Regions from separate parts of the Homo sapiens genome. Here all the other regions are linked to region 1. The links are contacts of gene promoters, found by promoter capture Hi-C in human tissues and cell types (Jung and others, 2019). All regions are on one chromosome and are shown on one strand. The core of a region is centred on a gene start or on the middle of the fragment in contact, and the rest is flanking DNA. Distances in the headings are between cores, read along the strand shown.

Region 1 (3,484 bases), core at 613-3,112:
AGCCCAAATATGATTTTAAATATTACATGCTCCTTTTTTCCTATTAACTCAGTTCACTGAGAAACTTGTTTCCACCAATACTGGGACATTTCTGTTGTTGTTGGTAAGATTCCTATGGTACTTTTCTTCTAAAAAACTTTTCAATCTACTCTCTCATTTATCTTTGCAGCAAACTTCAAGGTTAAAGATGAAGGAAAGTAGGTGATGATGATGGGATAATATGAGATGGAAAAGAGAATTTATTTTATTTGAGAATGGGAAAATTCAGCCCTAGACAAGCTGAGTAATTACTCACGGTCATAGAGTGAAGTCTGGTGGTGATACCTTTACCCCCTAAGATTCTTTCTTAGTTTCTATTATACTCTGTCACTGTAGGGATCTCTCTGCTGCCCTAGGAGCAATGCTTCATATGGCATCTCCATGGCATAAAGGCAAATGCCTGCATTGGCCAAGATAAATAAACCCATATATGGCCAGGGTCAGTGTGACCTCCATTTCCCATTGTGAAATCCGAGCTGGTTTTGTTGGACAGTTGAGAGATGAGAGGTTCCCTATTAATACACATATCCACATGCCAAGACTTGGACATAAAAGCTAAGAATGTGGCATGGGGGAGGAGGTAGGATAAGTGACAGCATTCTGAACTTAGAGTCCCCTCTCTTTGTCCAGGTCCTGGGAAAGATAATTAAATTCCTGGGTTGGTGATAGGAGATAAATGAGACCTTTACATGTATTAAAAAAAAACTTTTAACATGTTGGAGATGTCTTTAAGAAAGAAAATACATGCCATTATGAGAATATACCAGCATGTGGTTATATGCAAAAATGTATGTGAGTATATATGTCTGTGTTCCATGAACCCACAAGTGTGTTTGGAATTTCGTCATACATTAACATAAAGATCTATATGTGTAGATTAAACCCATCCTCCATCTCTCTAATACTCACATCAGCAGCCTTCTTCTCTGCCAGTTCCAGCTTCTCCTGGGCATCCTTCAAAGCTTCAGAATACTTGTCCAGCTCATCCTCTGTCCCTTTCAGCTTCTTCTGCATGGCTGCCAGCTCATCCTCCAGCTATAGGAGCCCAGAGAGTCACACACAAAAACACACAAACACAACAATGCAGGGTTGGACCCTGGGCTCTTGGAGCCCTGAGTGTAACCTCCATGTTACCATCCCTAGTGAGACACACTTTCTCCCCAGCCACTTCCAGCCCACTGCCTCAGGAGTTATGCCGTAGCTTGGCCTGTGACCCTGTAATCTCTGATCCTAAGATGACCAAGCCATCCTGGGTTTTCATCCAAGACCCCTGGATGATAAATATCTAAAGTGTAGATGCCCGTGATGCTATTTGAGTGAAAAGAGATGCTCTTTCCCTCTAGAACTCTTACCTTTTCCTCTAGAAGTCAAGGGTTCTTCCAAAACATGGTCCATTTCTACTTAAATTCAGCAGACATACTGTGGCTCACTGACTTTCCCAAGGTCACAAAGGCAGTCTGAGACAGATATGTTAGATATCCTCTGCTCCTCCAGTGAGGCTGGGGAGTCCATCCCACCCCCAAAAAGGAGGTGACACCAGTAGTCACTGTCTTTCCCATGAAAACTCCCTTCCATTTCACAGTCTTGTTCACTAGCAGATGAGAGAGATCAATGCCAGTGCCTACCTGTTTACTTCTTTCTTCTGCCTGCTTCTGCTCAGCTTCAGCTTGCTCTGCCCGATCCAGAGCATTCTCCTTGTCTAACTTCAGCATCTGCATCTTTTTCTTGATGGCCTCCATCATGAGCAGTGGCTGTTGGTAGGCTCACCTGTGAACACTGGAGAACTGGAGACTGGGGCAAGAAAGAAGGGGCTGCTGCCTGAGTGACCAGGAGGTCCCCAGACTTGAGTCTTTATCTGTGCTCATAGCTCCACCTTTTGTTCCTAATATGGTCTTTCCAGCTCCCTCCACCCCATCATTGTTCTCCTGGGGGAACACAGGGTGAGACGCTTTGATGAACTGACATCACCAGCAAAAAAAATATCTAGCAACAGCTGAGGCTGATTTTAGACAATGGAAAGTGGGGGAGGGAAGAGGTTCTCCCTGACCCTGAAACTTTCCACTCATTCTGGGCAGCTCTATGGATGTTTTAAAAGAAGAGGAAGAGGGGAGGGAAGAACATTGAAATAGAGAAGTGTACTTTGGCAATTCTAGGTTGGCAGTTTGCATCCAGGGGGTCCTGGTTGCCTTTCAGCTTCCCGTTTCACTCTCCCCCAGACTGTGTTGAATGCTGGTCAAACTCCGTTAGTTGAGTTTTAGCTTTTGATTCCTGGTATTCAAGGAGCTTGGGCACAGGGAAGAGGGGAGGTCACTCATGATCCTTAACAATTCTCCCAGATCCCCAGATCAAATTGCTGTGCTATTCTGGGAGTCTCCGATTGGCAGGGAGACGTTTTTCCTCCCCACCAAGAGCCACAAGAGTAGAGTAAGAGGTAGGGTTGGAATCTCCAACCCTATCCTTGAAGGCTATCCCAGAGCTTCAAGTGGGGTGGGGAGAGAAACAGGGGAGGGTCAGAACAATCCAGACAGGATCATACCCTTTGTTTTCCCACAGTAATCTTAAAATAGAACTGTTGTACCCACACAGACTTTGGTCTGTGTGGCTCTCTCCTCTTCTTCCCTTTATCTTCTCCCTTCTTAATTCTCCCCAACGCTGCCACTCACCACATCATCGTAATCATCATTATCAGCTCTATTCTTTCCAGTTTAGTTCCAGACCATGTTTATTCTTCCATTGGGAGCCTTGTTACTAACAGGTGGCAAGGATACCAGTCCACTGGCACCATACACCTGAAAATATGCCAAGGGAGAGGTGGGCACTGTTCAAGGTGACCAGATATATTGGACAAATATAAATGGCTCTAGTTAGTCATTTATGTCAGGATACTGAGAGTTAATGCTAAGCCCCAGCAATGGGGGAACGGAGACACCCACCAGGCCAGTGGGTAGAGCAGAGCTGGAGTCCACTATTGAGAGCTTCCAGTCACTAGAGGTAGATAGGCAGATAGACCATCAGCTGACTCTCGACAGAGAGAGGAGAAACCAAGTCTCCTTTCTCTGGAGATTAGCCAGGGAAAGGGGTTAGGGAACAGGGAGAGGAAGGAGTGGAAAATGGGGGGGGGGTGGGCAAGTGAATAAGGGGGAGAAAAATACGAGGACAAGAAAAGGCAAAGAAATGTCCCTTCTAGTATAAGGGGACAAGAAATAGAAAGATTCTATCCTCAAATTCCAACTCTCTCCCATTCCCACACCAGCCCTCTTAGGTTAAGATTGAAATGCACATAGGTTGCAGCTACTGGACTTTTGGGGGGGTCCTGGAGAGAAGAGGTTCAGTAAAAGAGACAGGAGCCCCAGAGATTGAAGTATGAAAGAGGGTGGTGCTGAATCACCTGCTGCTGTAAGAATATGTTTGACATTTAGTTGGTTCCTAATTAAACAACCCAATA
Region 2 (3,746 bases), core at 864-3,363, 37 kb before region 1:
TACATACTACCAGGTATATGTAAATGACACTTTTTAAAGAAGGAACATTGCTTAGGGATGCGATAATTAAACTGAGAGATTGATGAGAACTTTCCCAATGATCCCTTGAACAAAGTCCCAGAAATATCCCTCCCTCAATTTTTTTTAAAAGATTTTTATATTCTTCCCTCAGTATGCAGAAATACGACTGATGTGTTTCTAGTAATGAGAGGGGACTTTCTCATACTCTGAGGAAAGTTTCCTTCAATCCTAGAAACCAGGCTTCTGATATCTAGGATGGAAAAGGTGCCTAAATTATGAGGTGTGAGTCCAACTCAAAATACCAAAAACATTCATAAATATTTTTATTCTTATTTATTATTATGTTTTTGAGACCGAGTCACTTTGTTGCCCAAGCTGAAGTGCAGCAGGGCGATCTCAGCTCACTGCAACATTCGCCTCCAGGGTTCAAGCGATTCTCCTGCCTCAGCCTCTCGAGTAGCTGAGATTACAGGTGTCTGCCACTATGCCCGACTAATTTTTGTATTTTTAGTAGGGATGGGCTTTCATCATGTTGGCCAGGCTGGTCTTGAACTCCTGACTTCAAGTGATCTGCCTGCCCCGGCCTCCCAAAGTGCTGGGATTACAGGCGTGAGCCACTGCGCCCGGCCGAATGTTTTTATTTTAAATAGAGACGGGGTCTCACTATGTTGATCCGGCTGGTCTCAAACTCCTGGCCTCAAGTAATCCTCCTGCCTTGGCCTCCCAAAGTGCTGGGATTACAGGCGTGAGCCACCATGCCTGGCCTCATTAATATTTTTGGAGTGATAGAAGAAATGGCTTTCAATGCTGGAAAGATGCCTTGCATCACCCTCACGGTCAGGAAACACACACGTCACACTGGATCATCTTACAAGCTCACTTTCCTTATACTTCCTCATAAAATGAGAGGTGAATTTATACTCGGAACAAACCTCATTGCTTCTCCTAGGAGATGGCAAAGGGGTATCTACTCCATCTAGGATGAATGCACTGGCATCCTGAAGCTCACTTCGGTTAGGTTCTCTCATACCTTAGGCAACCACATAACCCATCATTGGGTCCTCTCACACCAGAAAATCATGTCTCTTCATCTTCAGTCAGGAAGTCATTATCCCGGAGTTGTGTGTACCCCCTGTCCTCACACTTCAAGCGGGTACCCTTTTATAAATGGGGCAATTTTGATAATACAGACAGATCTCATCTCCACCCACGATAAATCTTCTCATATTCCCAGAAGTTTACACTTCATAGTCTCTGGGCCTCACTTTCCTCGTCTGTGAAATGGGAGTAATAGTACTTACTTCATAAGACTGCAAAAAGCGAATGAGTTAACACATGTAAAGTGCTTAGTTAACCCCCAATACTTGGCTGTTGTGTTTTAAGTCCTTCTCACATTGAATAGCTCATCTATAGTTAGTGGGGACCCTCGCACCCCAAGTTTTCCTGTTCCTACAGAAATTTCCTCAGATATGGGGAACTTCCTCTTACTCTAGTTGTTTACATTGGAAGTCATCAGTACCTGTGGCCTCCAACACAGGGCTTCCCTTTACCCTGACGGCTGCTCATAGTGACCACCCCTTCCCAACACACACAGAGAAGAGGCCAGTCCCACATCCCGAGAATTCCTCACACGTCTGGAAGATTGTCACACAGCTGGAGGATATACCACATGAGTAGGACACGCCACACCCAAGGGTCTGCTCCTCGCCACCTTCACTGACACCACACTCTCCTCCCCTACCGGCTAGGCCCCTTCACGCGGCCCCACACGGTATTCCTGTGGGATCTTACAGAGGGAACCCCCCTCACCCTTACTGGATGGTAGTGAGGGTGCATATCCTTGTCACCCACCACCCCTCACCAAGTGTAGCAGCCCCGCTGGGCCTCCAGCAGGAAAGGCACCCGGCCTGGCTCTCGGCCGAAGGGTAGCAACACCTGTGGCACGTTAAGTTTGTTGGCCAGGGTCCCACGCAAAACCAGAAACAACAACAGGAGGCGGTGTAGACGCAAGAAGAAAAAGAGCCCGAAGCCTCGGCGTCTTGATGACGCCGGACAGCCAGTCATGGCGACTGCCAGGTCTCGGGTTCCCGCTCAACTACAGCCGGCTCACAGCTCCATCAGCCAATCCACAGGCGTGACGTCAGCAGAGGGGGATGGGACCTGCTTCTTGCTCGGATGTGTGGGCATTTTTAAATGCAGTCCTTCAGCAAGCCAATATAATGGAAACTTTTGGCACAAACCCAGCTAAAACACCTCAAACTCTCTTAAAGGGCTTTCCTAAATACTGGATGGCAGACCTTTTTAACAGTAAGGAACAAGCAGAAAAGTCTAAAAAAAACCCTTTAATTTCTTCCAGTTTTAATTTCTTCTGTTGCACACTGTTTATCTTAACACCACACCCTCCGCCCGACAAAAAAACTTTTTGCAATGATTTCCAGTTAGCATTGGTCCATGCCTATCAACGGAAAATTGTGCAGTCTCTGGGATAAACAGCTCGACTTTGTCAAGGGAACCGTGTATTTTTACTAGAAGTCAGATTCACGTCCGGCCTCCAGGCCAGAATGCAGGAAATGCCAGACACTGGCGTCTCAAAAGCAGCTTTCAAAGTTATCCACTCACACAGCCGGCCTCTAAGCAAATACTCTTGAGAGCACTTGTTGTTTTCTCCAAATATCCAAACAGAATATAAACTCAAAGCTGTTTCAGTACAGTTGGTTAAAACCACGCATTTATAGTAGTGATCAGCATTATATATTGTTTTAAGGAGCATAAATCCATAGTTTATAAGGATTGATATGGTTGTGAAGGAAAATGTATATAGTTCAGCCTGAGATGTCAGTGTTAACCTATAAAAGGCCCAGCACATTAAGTGTTCTTTCTAATCTTCATGTTTACTCTGACAATACTTATCTCCATTTTACAGATGATAAAACTAAACATTTGCTCTATATTAAATCCTGTTGCTCCAGCTGGGTGCGGTGGCTCACGCCCGTAATCCCAGCATTTTGGGAAGCTGAGGCAGGTGGATCACCTGAAGGTCAGGAGTTCGAGACCAGCCTGGCCAACATGGTGAAGCCCTGTCTCTACTTAAAATATAAAAAATTACCCGGGCATGGTGGCAGGTGCCTGTAATCCCAGCTACTCGGGAGGCTGAGGCAGGAGAATCTCTTGAACCAGGAGGCGGAGGTTGCAGTGAGCCGAGATCGAGCCATTACGCTCCAGCCCAGGCAACAAGAATGAAACTTCATCTCAAAAATAATAATAATAAAGAATAAATCCTGTTGCTACCACCCACAAAGATGCTATTTTTAACCCAAACCTCATAGCTTCTGTGGAGAAAGCACATTTAGTTTTAATAAATAAAAGTCAAATAGGTCTGAGGGTTGGAGGGACTGGTTCTTTATTTCAAAAAGACACTTGTCAATATTCAGTATCAAAACAGTTGCACTATTGATTTCTCTTTCTCCCAATCGGCCCCAAAGAGACCACATAAAAGGAGAGTACATTTTAAGCCAATAAGCTGCAGGATGTACACCTAACAGACCTCCTAGAAACCTTACCAGAAAATGGGGACTGGGTAGGGAAGGAAACTTAAAAGATCAACAAACTGCCAGCCCACGGACTGCAGAGGCTGTCACAGCCAGATGGGGTGGCCAGGGTGCCACAAACCCAAAGCAAAGTTTCAAAATAATATAAAATTTAAAAAGTTTTGTACATAAGCTATT
Region 3 (3,479 bases), core at 714-3,213, 58 kb before region 1:
CTCTTTCTCTTATATTCTCCATCTCCATGAACAGTTCCACCAGCTACTCTATGCCAGGTGCTGGGACATATTATGAATAGTCACCATCCATGTCCTCAAAAAAGATAAATAAACAGACAAATACAATGTATTTTAATATTTGATACTTTGGAAAAAAATAACAATATGAACTGAAAATATGGGGGAAAAAAAGAACATTTAAGTTCACCTGGGGAATTCAGGGAAGTTCCTGACACACAGTTGGGGCTCAATAAATATTGAATAACTTAATTTATTTTGTAGGTATGATTGTATTTGTTGAAAAATGTCCTAGGTACCTTAAAATGACTAAAAAGCAAACAACATTGGATCAATAACTCTCCTTAATGTGTGTTAGACAAATAATATAGGCTGCTAACTAACAATATTATACAAGAAATACTGTACCTTTCAAGTCTGATAGAATTTTTTTGGTGTTGGCAACTTTTCTTGAAGTGGAGTAGCAGAGGTACTGCTCCTTTTGGAGCAGGGCTACGCTATAGACAGTGTGCCCAAAGTAGAGACATTCTTATTCAGAGTAAGCCTACTAGGCCCTACCTAATCTGCCCCTCCCCTACTCTATTACTTCTACTATTTCCTGATTCACTGCACTTTAGCTTCACTGTCTTCCTTACTCTTCTTTAATCATGCCAAATATGTTCCTACTTCAGAACCTTTGCCATTGCTCTTTCCTTTCCCTAGAAGTCTTTCACCAATTATCCACATGGCTTATTGTGCCAGTGTCGCCTCATCAGAGAGGACTTTTCTAACTATGCTAGGTAAAGACTGGGTGTGGTGGATCACACCTGTAATCCAAGCACTTTGGGAGGCCTAGGCAGGAGGTTCATTTAAGGCCAGTAGTTCATCCAGCCTACTCAGCCTAGCAAGACATCTCTACAAAAAAAGACACAATTAGTATGGCACGGTGGTGTATGCCTATAGTCCCAGCTACTCAGAAGGCTGAGGTGGGAGGATTGCTCAAGGCTACTATGAGTTATGATCATGCCTCTGCACTCTAACCTGGGCATCAGAGTGAGACTCTATCTCTAAAAAAAAAAAAAAAAATCTGGCTGGGTGTGGTGGCTCATGCCTGGAATCCTAGCACTTTGGGAGGCCAAGGCAGGTGAATCGCTTGAGTCCAGGAGTTCAAGAGCAGTGTGGGCAACATGGCGAGACCTTGTGTCTATAAAAAAATACAAAAATTAGCTGGGCGTGGTGGCACGTGCCTGTGGTCCCAGCTACTTGGGAGGCTGAGCTGGGAGGATCACTTGAGCCTGGAGTTTACAGGTTGCAGTGAGCCAAGAGCCAAGATTGCACCACTGCACTCCAGCCTGGGCAACAGAGTGAGACCCTGTCTCTACAAAAATAATAATTTTTTGGCCAGGCACAGTGGCTCATGCCTGTAATCCCAGCACTGTGGAAGGCCGAAGTGGGTGGATCATCTGAGGTCAGGAGTTCAAGTCCAGCCTGGCCAACATGGTGAAACCCCATCTCTACTAAAAATACAAAAATTAGCCGGGCATGGTGGCGCACACCTGTAATCCCAGCTGCTTAGGAGGCCGAGGCAGGAGAATAACTCGAACCTGGGAGGCGGAGGTGGGAGTGAGCAGAAATCGCGCCACTGCACTCCAGCTTGGGCAACAAGAGCAAAACTCCACCTCAAAAAAAAAATAATAATAATAATAATAATATTTTAAGAATCTAACTATACTGGACAAAATGGCAATTTGTATACCCAGAGCTTAGAACAATGTTGAGCATATAGTAGAAATATAATAGATATTTGCTGAATGAATTTCTTTCAGATTAAAATATTCAAAAAAAATACCAAATAAAACACAGAGAGATGGAGTCCAAATCATATTTCAATTTTCTGAGAATTTAAATCTTCATTCTCTTCTGTTTTCATTGACTATTACAGATCTCCGTGTACCTTTTTTTTTTTTTTTTTTGAGATGGAGTTTCAGGCCGGGCGCGGTGGCTCACGCCTGTAATCCCAGCACTTTGGGAGGCCGAGGCGGGCAGATCACAAGGTCAGGAGATCGAGACCATCCTGGCTAACACAGTGAAACCCCGTCTCTACTAAAAATACAAAAAATTAGCTGGGCGAGGTGACGGGCGCCTGTAGTCCCAGCTACTCGGGAGGCTGAGGCAGGAGAACGGCGTGAACCCCGGGGGCGGAGCCTGCAGTGAGCCGAGATTGCGCCACTGCACTCCGGCCTGGGCGACAGCGAGACTCCGTCTCAAAAAAAAAAAAAAAAAAAAGATGGAGTTTTGCTCTTGTTGCCCAGGCTGGAGTGCAGTGGTGCGATCTTGGCTCACCGCAACCTCCACTTCCCGGGGGTTCAAGCGATTCTCCTGCCTCAGCCTCCCGAGTAGCTGGGATTACAGGCATGCACCACCACGCCCGGCTAATTTTTGTATTTTTAGTAGAGACGGGGTTTCTTCATGTTGGTCAAGCTGTTCTCAAACTCCCGACCTCAGGTGATCAGCCGGCCTCGGCCTCCCAAAGTGCTGGGATTACATGCGTGAGCCACCACGCCCGGCCTCTGTGTACCTTTCTTTGTTCAATCCTTGCATAGCAGGTTTAGTGAATTTTTAAAAATTGCTCTCAACACAATAAAAATATTAGTTAAACATCTACTGGAGACAATAGCATATTTTCTCAATTATCATGTACAAATAGAAAAGAGAATTAAATAAAATTCTCACATGTTCTTCCAAACTCCGTTTTCCCCATTCCCCTAATTACAGTTTTTTTATTTCCCTAATTACAATTTGATTGAGGTTGCAAATAAGCATTGAAGTTAGTAGATCCCAAGTTCCAACTATACTCCTTTTCTCTACTTACTCTGCTAGAAATTATGACAGTAATAACTTATAATTCTTTATTAAAAATAAAACCTATAGGAAAACACTGTAGTAGTATTATAATCTTTTTTTTTTTTTTGAGACGGAGTCTCGCTGTGCCGCCCAGGTTGGAGTGCAGTGGCACGATTTTGGCTCACTGCAACCTCTGCCTCCCGGGTTCACACCATTCTCCTGCCTCAGCCTCCCGAGTAGCTGGGACTACAGGCGCCCGCCACCACGCCTGGCTAATTTTTAGTATTTTTAGTAGAGTCAGGGTTTCACCGTGTTAGCCAGGATGGTCTCGATCTCCTGACCTTGTGATCAGCCCGCCTCGGCCTCCCAAAGTGCTGGAATTACAGGCGTGAGCCACCGCGCCCGGCCATAATCATTCTTAATAAATTATTTTACCAAAGAACATGTCTAGGATGCTCAAGGAAGTGTAGACTGGCAGCTAAAACTTGAACAAAAGGATACTTTTATGGACAAAGACAAGATTAGTCTGGCCCAGTTGTGAGGCAGTCACCATGGCTGTTTTGTCATCCAGTATAGCCACTTTCTCAGAATGAGACCCGTTAAGTGCAACTCTATGGTCTTGCAATTCCAGTATATAA

What was found. Contacts are between HindIII fragments. The study calls those that stand out against the background at their distance.
Region 2: the fragment with the promoter of NUP210L here is called in contact with the fragment with the promoter of TPM3 in region 1 in 1 of the 25 tissues and cell types used here (adrenal gland).
Region 3: a contact is called between a fragment that was not itself captured here and the fragment with the promoter of TPM3 in region 1, in 1 of the 25 tissues and cell types used here (psoas muscle).

What each region holds. Positions count from the first base shown.
Region 1 is chr1:154,190,238-154,193,721 of GRCh38, forward strand. TPM3 (tropomyosin 3) reads right to left here and starts at 1,863. Exons shown (of 10, transcript NM_152263.4): 1 at 1,665-1,863; 2 at 949-1,074. The coding sequence starts at 1,781. MIR190B (microRNA 190b) reads right to left here; the gene lies at 3,428-3,484. The HindIII fragment of the contact is 10,185 bases long and covers 1-3,484 here.
Region 2 is chr1:154,152,960-154,156,705 of GRCh38, forward strand. NUP210L (nucleoporin 210 like) reads right to left here and starts at 2,114. Exons shown (of 40, transcript NM_207308.3): 1 at 1,883-2,114. The coding sequence starts at 2,085. It also overlaps a transcript of TPM3 not described here. RefSeq lists enhancers at 1,447-1,947, 1,948-2,448 and a silencer at 3,055-3,232. The HindIII fragment of the contact is 16,458 bases long and covers 1-3,746 here.
Region 3 is chr1:154,132,472-154,135,950 of GRCh38, forward strand. NUP210L (nucleoporin 210 like) reads right to left here. Exons shown (of 40, transcript NM_207308.3): 7 at 3,343-3,479. Among named protein-coding and RNA genes, the nearest start is that of NUP210L, 21 kb to the right of the region's middle. The HindIII fragment of the contact is 5,197 bases long and covers 1-3,479 here.